Regions from separate parts of the Homo sapiens genome. Here region 2 is linked to region 1. The links are contacts of gene promoters, found by promoter capture Hi-C in blood cells and fetal thymus (Javierre and others, 2016). All regions are on one chromosome and are shown on one strand. The core of a region is centred on a gene start or on the middle of the fragment in contact, and the rest is flanking DNA. Distances in the headings are between cores, read along the strand shown.

Region 1 (3,903 bases), core at 607-3,106:
TTTTTTTGTTTGTGTGTTTTGAGATAGGGTCTCACTTTGTCGCCCAGGTTGGAGTGCAGTGGCACGATCTCGGCTCACCGCAAACTCTGCCTCCTGGGTTCAAGCGATTCTCCTGCCTCAGCCTCCCCAGTAGCTGAGATTACAGGTGCCCACCACCACACCCGCCTAATTTTTGTATCTTTAGTAAAGACGGGTTTTCACCATGTTGGCCAGGCTAGTCTGGAACTCCTGACCTCAGGTGATCTGCCTGCCTCAGCCTCCCAAAGTGCTGGGATTACAGGCATGAGCCACTGCAGACGGCACATCTTTAACCTTTTGAGCAACTGCAGCTATTTCCCAAAGTGGCTGCACCATTTTACATTCCCACCAGCAGTATATGAGGGTTCCAATTTCTTCACATCTTCCCCTAAACTTATTATTATTTGTCTTTTTTATTACAGCCATCCTCCAATAAATTCAAGTTTTTATTTTGGAATGACTTTCCATTTAAAGAATTTCGAGGATACTACAAAGAGTTCCAGTATATCCTTCATTCATCTTTCCCTAATGGGAGAGAAGGATTATTTTGAAAAAAAAAAAAAAAAAAAAAAAAGAGAGAGAAATGATACCAAGTAATCCAGCTTTAGTCTTTGTTGACTGAAGTGCGTATTAGGAGCTTTGGCCAGTCAAAGCAAAAGGTAGCGAAAAGATAGTCACTTCAAGGTGTCCAAGTTAAGAAAACCAGGAGGTAGAATTCAAGGAGACCATGTCAAATCCTGTCAGCAAAGTCAAGGTCAGAAAGGAAGCCACTTCCTAACGACCCACACCACTGGTGGTCTCATCACGCTGTTGCACCATTTGGATGTTTTCTAATTCTCCCGGGCTGTTTTCTCTCCAATTGGACTGTAAACTCCTGGCAGGCTCAGGCAGTGCTCGGAAGGTCTCTCACACGGTCCAACCTTACGCGAAAAGCACTTATTGAAAGCACCTCGATGGCCGGGCGCGGTGGCTCACGACTGTAATCCCAGCACTTTGGGACGCCAAGGCGGGCGGATCACCTGAGCTCAAGAGTTCGAGACCAGCCTGGCCAACATAGTGAAACCCTGTCTCTACTAAAAATACAAAAATTAGCCAGGTTTGGTGGCGCGCGCCTGTAGTCCCAGCTACTTGGGAGCCTGAGGCAGGAGAATCGCCTGAACCCGCGAGGCGGAGGTTGCAGTGAGCTGAGATTGCGCCACTGCACTCCAGCCTGGGCGACACAGTGAGAAAGAAAGGAAAGAGAGAAAGAGAAAGAAAAAGAGAAAGAGACAGACAGACAGAAAGTAAGCAAGCAAGCAAGCAAGCACCTCAACAGAGACAGAGACGTAAAGAAAGAGAGACAGAGACAGAAAGAAAGAAAGCACCTCCTCAGCTTCCCATAGCGCAGGAGACTTGCTCGACCAGAGAACCTACGGTCAGACGACACATCCACTGCCACACCCATACCCAAGCCGGGACGCGGAACCGCTTCTACCCGCCCACACCGGAGAGGTTGCTCGCGATTGGCCGGGCGGGCACAGAGGCCCGCCTTCCGAAGGTGGCAGAGCAGCCTCCCCAACTAAGCCTGGGTCGCCGCCTCGGTGAAGGGCCGCGGGGCCGAGCGCGGGAAGTGGCGTCCAGTCGGTTTTTGGCAGGCGAGAGCCAGAGCGTGAGAACCCTCCCACGGCGAGGCCAAGCCCTGAGACTGGACTAGCAAGGTCGTGAGTCTCTCTGTCAGCTCTCCGCAGCGAAGGGGCGCGGGGGGCGGGGACCGTGCCCGACCGTGCCAGCTCCCGCCCCGGAAGCGGAAGTGCAAGCACTGCGGGGTCCTGTCCAGTGTGAGCCCGACCCGAGCTCCAGTAGTTCCGCCCGCTGGTCATCGCGCCCTTTCCCCTGCCGGTGTCCTGCTCGCCGTCCCCGCCATGCTGTCTCTAGACTTTTTGGACGATGTGCGGCGGATGAACAAGCGGCAGGTGAGCTTGTCCGTCCTCTTTTTCTCCTGGCTCTTCTTGTCCCTTCGAGGCTGCTGCTGCGGGGCCCGGCGGACCCCAGGGTTCTGGTGTGAGGGTCTGAGCTGGTCTGATACCCGGGTCATTCGCTTTCTTTGGAGACTGTGGCCAGAGGCCGCCTTGTCCGCCTCATTATTTTTAACCCCGAACTGATTCAGGGCCTACCGGGGGCGGGGCGGGAAGCGGTGTCTTCACGTTCCATTCCTCCCACTGAGGCAGGGGAGCAAATGGAAACCGTACGCGCTTGAAGTGGGAGTTGGGGTTGCTTATTGTTTTAGTCATTTTAAGGCGGCGGACTCTTGATTTCTCCAGTCGGAGCGACTCCAGGTGGTTTCGGGAGAGACGAGGTTTAGCCGGTTTCTGGGGCGCTCAGGAAGGCGATTGGAGGCCCCACAAAAACCGTTTTGCTGCTTTCAGCTCCTTGCAACCCTTTAGTAGAGCTGAACCGTAGCGGGCTGCACCGACTTTGACTTGGACCACTCTGGGCTCCGAGTTGGAACAGTTACACTACTTGCCCTTGCGTCCGCTTAGCACTAAGGCGGCAGCCCTCGGAATCTATGGTTTTACAGTCCAATATCAGTGCCACGGGGATCTGGAAATGTAGGTCTCCTGATTTTGTCCTTACACTTTACTTTGATCTTCTAGATCGTATGCCAAATAGTACTGAGAATATTGTTGTAATTATTTAGTCCTTAGAAAAGGTTGTTCTGTTTTATCTTTTGCGCCTAGTGTGTCTGTAGAGCCTAGTTTTGCTGCATCGGACTTTTTTTTTGTTTTAAACAGTATTTTACTGTTATGATTATCCTGATGTCACCATTAAGGATTTTTTTTCCTTGGACTTGCATTTTTTGTACTTATAACTGCCACTTAGGGAAGTAGATACACAACCTTTCCTTACTCCCCTTCAGGCCTTAGCTAGCTCAGTGTCAATTCTGTCAGTCAGAATTGAGCATTCTATAAAAATTGCGCAAACGTTACTTTATGTCTTTATGACAACACTTCAAATTTTTACTTGTATAGTGTTGTCTTTTTTTAATCCATATTTGGATTTCTAGATGCCACAGATATTTCTCTGAGGAAAGTATTTATTTTGAGTCTGATATTTATTGTACTCTATGCTAGGTACAATGAGAGAAATGCAAAGATAGTTAAGAAAGACTCGGCCTTCAAGGAGCCTAAATGTGTAGAAAAGGACTAAGGCAAAACAATAACTTTTTTGAGCTCTTGCCATGTGTGAAGCACTTTATACACCTGTAAGGTAGGTAACGTTGTTCTTATTAAACATGAAGAAAATGAGACTTTGTGAGAAGCAATACAGTATAGAAGTTAAGAATATGGACTCTAAAGCTAGATTTCAGAGGTTTGAAGTAGCTCTGCTACTTACTGGCTGTGTGACTTTGAGCAGATTACTTAACCTGTCTGTGCCTATGTTTACTTTTATTGTTGTAAAAAGATATGCAACATAAAATATTCCATTTCAACCGTTTTTACGTGTATACTTCACTGACATTAGTTGCATTCACTATGTTGTGCAAACGTAGGGTCGCTATGAAGATTAAATGAGTTAATTCATATAAAGCCCTCAGAAGAGTGTCTGGCACATGGTGAGTATTGGCTGTACTGTGGTCGATGTCATTGTTAGAGAGCTTTAGTGATTTGCTTAAGACAGAAGGTAGACTGGGTGCGGTGGCTCACGCCTGTAATCCCAGCACTTTGGGAGGCTGAGGCAGGCGGATCACAATGTCAAGAGATTGAGACCATCCTGGCCAACATGGTGAAACCCCCTCTCTACTAAAAATACAGATACTAGCTGGGCCTGTTGGCGCACGCCTGTAGTTCCAGCTACTCAGGAGGCTGAGGCAGGGGAATCGCCTGGGAGGTGGAGATTGCAGTGAGC
Region 2 (3,903 bases), core at 388-2,887, 250 kb before region 1:
CCAGGACATGTTGATTTTATTCTGGGTGGCCATATATCCAACTATACACTTATAAGAAAAGAAGGGAAAATGGCTATTGGAATCAACAAGCAGTCTCCAGCCTAAATCCAGAGAGGAGACTTCCATGTATTGCCACCAAAAAACTGCCTTGCAGGTCTGTATTAGTCCATTCTCATACTGCTATGAAGAAATACTTGAGACTGGGTAATTTATAAAGGGAAGAGGTTTAATTGACTCACAGTTCTGCAGGGCTGGGGAGGCCTCAGGAAACTTACAATCATGGCAGAAGGGGAAGCAAACACATTTTTCTGTACATGGTGGGAGGAAGGAGAAGTGCCAAGCAAAGGGGGAAAGGCCCTTTATAAAACCATCAGATTTTGTGAGAACTCACTCAACTCACTATCATGAGAACAGCATGGGGGTAACCACCCCCAATACTCAATTACCTTCCACCAGGTCCCTCCCATGACACGTGGGGTTATGGGAACTATAATTCAAGATGAGATTTGGGTGTGGGGACACAGCCAAACCATATCAAGGTCCAAGCACTGGCATTCCATACTGAGGATCTTCAAAGGCAAGGAAGTCTCAAGCCTTACAGGTAAGACAAAGAGGGAAGCATCAATCATTCCCTCCTGCTCCTATGTTGGCAGTCTGCTTCCAGCTGCAGACGCACTTGCTTTTCCAGCCTCCCTTGCAGCTACAGCATGGGCCTCTGGCTTAATCCCAGGATAGAAAGAAATATCTGCTGGGGCTTCTGTGGAAAGATTCTTCCCATCTAATGAATGCATGGGAGGAAAAGCCTTTTCTACTAGTCATGGCCCTGTCTGGGTGTAATGTCCAGAACTTCAGCAGCCATCTTGTGACCACAAGGGGTCAATCCAAGGATAAAATCAAAATAACAGAGCAGAGAGGTGGCAAGAGCCAGGGTCCCTGGTACCATCATTGATGCCTGGATTAACCCTGGAGCCACTTACCCCTGGAGTTGCTACTATGTGAGATATTAAAAATCTCACATCATGTAAACCATTTTCTATTGAATGCACTGTTACTTGCAATTGATATTGGGTAATGTCAATCATTCTAACCAATAAAGAGCATGTCTCCTACTGAGTGAGAGGAAGGAATAGGTGATCTCTGTGCAGCTGCTCCTGCTGGGAAGATCTGTTGGGGCAATGAGTGCCCTGAAAGGAGTGGGCAATCTTCCTTCAATGTCTTCCTTGCCTCCTTCCCTGTTTCTCTTCTTTTCTTCTTCCTTCCCTCCTTCCTTCCATCCTTCCTTCCCATGCCCTTATCGTTTCCTTCCCCTTCCCTTCCTCCCTCACTAGACATCAAGCCCTAAAGATACTGTTTTAAACAAGATGGACACATTTCCTTCCCCCAGAAGCATACTGACATGTATGAGATAGATGATTAAACAAGACTTCACAAGGTATGACAGGGGCCAAGACAGGAGAATCAGGGTGCTGTGGGAGGTCCAGAACAGACTCCTAACTCAACTTATAAGTTCAGATGGCTTCCTAGAGAAGACAGCCACATTGGGTCCTGAGGGATGAGTAGGAATTAGGTACATGAAAGAAAGGAGTGGTCAAGCGTCTGGAGCAGCCTGTGGAAGAGCCGAGAGGAAGGAGAGTGCAACTCCTTCAAGGGACTGAAAGCAGCTCAGTGAGGCTGGAGCTAGGACAGAGGAGGCGCTGTGCTAGGAAATGGCTAGAGGTGAAATAGGGGGTCATCAGGGGCTGGATCTAAGCATCCTCATGAGCCATGATGAGGAGCTGGCACTTTGCCTGAAAGCACCAACTGGACCATCTGCCTCTTAACCACCCACTTGCTCTGCATGGCTCAGCTGCTGTCCAGGTCTCATCCTGGGTGAACCCCATCATGGACTGGCCTGGTGTACAATGGCTGATAGACAGGCTCGGGGGGGCAGCTGGACCCCAGGTAGGTACCCTCCCTGGCCATGCCAGAGCTGAAGAGAAGCCAGCCCTGTCCCATACTGTGTTGTGGTGTGATGGGCCACTTTGTGAAAGGGTGTCCCACCCTCCGCCACGTGTCCACCACTCGCTATGACTGTAGTCCCTTCCCTGCTTCTGAAACTGGACTCCTGCTTCCCCACCCCTCTATCTAGTGAGGGAATATTCTAACAGCCCATTCTAGCAGGACCTCAGGATGGAAGATTGGAAGCTCCCTGTCCAGGGAAACACAAGTGGATGCCCACTCCTGGGGAGAGGGTGTATAAAGATCCTCAGCTATGGGTCACATGGGGCATCCAGTGGTGGTAGGCACTGCTTGTTGGTGAGCATGAGAGTAAGGGGTGTGGCTAGGGATAGCCCGAGGGATTGCAAGGCTGGAGTGGTTTGGCCTGTTTCTTGATTTTTTCTAATTCAATTTAAATCTGACTCTAAGCCACTATCCCACTGAGCTGGCAAGAAATTCAATCTCAGGCATATCGTTGAGTCTCCCTCCCCCATTCTCAAGATTTTGCCAAGGTCCCAGGGTCTTAGGCAGTGCTGAGGCGTCAGGCTGGCTCCACTGGTCACACTAGCAAATGCAGAACATCCATCATCCCAGCCTTGTGGCACCTCAGGCTTGGTGGCTCTGCTGATTTGGAGTCACCCTTGGAATGTGGGAATTGTGAGGGAGGGGCGAAAGCTCTGTGCTCAGATCCACTCTCCCTGAGTGTACCAGGCAGCCATGTCCTCTAAGGCCTTGTCACCTTTGGACACTGCCTAGAGTCAAGGTTTGAGACCTTTCCTCCCTACCCCCAGCCCTAGTCACACTCTGCCCCTTTCCCTTCTGGGGTAAAAATCTTTTCCTCTCCCTTCTTCCTGCTCTCAAAGGCCCACCCTTGGCCTGGTGCAGTGACTCACATCTGTAATCCCAGCACTAGGAGTTTGAGACCAGCCTGGGCAACATGGTGAAACCCCATCTCTACTAAAAATACAAAACATTGGCCAGGCATGGTGGCATGCACCTATAGTTCCAGCTACTCCAGAGGCTGAGGTGGAAGGATCACCCGAGCCCAGGAGATGGAGGTTGCAGTGAGCCCTGATCATGTCACCATACTCCAGCCTGGGCGACGGAGCAAGACTCTATCTCAAAAAACAAAAAATCATAGGCCCACCCTTTCTTTCTTCTCTTTCCAGGACACCTTACAGAGTCTCTATAAAGAGTCAACGAAGGCTGGGTGCAGTGGCTCACACCTATAATCCTAATACTTTGAGAGGCTGAGAAGGGAAGATCACCTGAGGCCAGGAGTTCGAGACAAGCCTGGGCAACATAGCGAGATCTCTGTCTCTACAAAAAAGAAAAATTAGCCGGGCATGGTGGTGAGCACTTGTAGTCTCAGCTACTCTGGAGGCTTAGGCGGGAGGATCACCTGAGCTCAGGAGTTGGAGGCTTCAGTGAGCTATGATCACACCATTGCACTCCAGCCTGGGTGGCAGAGTGAGACCCTGTCTCTAAAAATAATTAAGAAATTTAAAAAAAAATTTAGGTCAAGATTATTGCAAAAGACAGAAAGACCCACCAACTTCCGATAGCTTTTATGCTCTGACCACCAGAAATACCCAAGGCAAGGAAACACCAAGGGACTCACTCTCTGCTTGAAAGAGCCAGGGGAGGAGCAAATGTAAACCAAATGAGCACAGGGTAACATTTCAATGAATCATCTTGCCCCAGTGGTTTGATGAAGGGCAGTATCTCTGTCGTAGGTGCTGCCGTTGTGAATCCCAAACTCTTCCTGGCTGTCTCACCTAGTTAGTGACTTTACCTGGCATGAGCTTCTCTCACCCAACATCTTGGAGTACTTGGACCACCTTAAACTGCTGCTGTATTAATTAACTGTCATTAAATGATGCTGCCGTAACAGTCTCGGAATCTTAGTGTCTTACGACCATCAAG

The links. Contacts are between HindIII fragments. The CHiCAGO score rates a contact against its expected background, and 5 or more counts as called.
Region 2: a fragment that was not itself captured here is called in contact with the fragment with the promoter of SEC11A in region 1 in 1 of 17 cell types (fetal thymus); the score reaches 5.6 in fetal thymus.

The regions. Positions count from the first base shown.
Region 1 is chr15:84,714,092-84,717,994 of GRCh38, reverse strand. SEC11A (SEC11 homolog A, signal peptidase complex subunit) reads left to right here and starts at 1,856. Exons shown (of 6, transcript NM_014300.4): 1 at 1,856-1,970. The coding sequence starts at 1,920. RefSeq lists enhancers at 508-1,071, 1,193-1,302, 1,323-1,442, 1,072-1,637, 2,113-2,182 and 1 more. The HindIII fragment of the contact is 22,021 bases long and covers 1-3,903 here.
Region 2 is chr15:84,961,652-84,965,554 of GRCh38, reverse strand. It overlaps a transcript of SLC28A1 not described here. Among named protein-coding and RNA genes, the nearest start is that of PDE8A, 18 kb to the left of the region's middle. The HindIII fragment of the contact is 8,662 bases long and covers 1-3,903 here.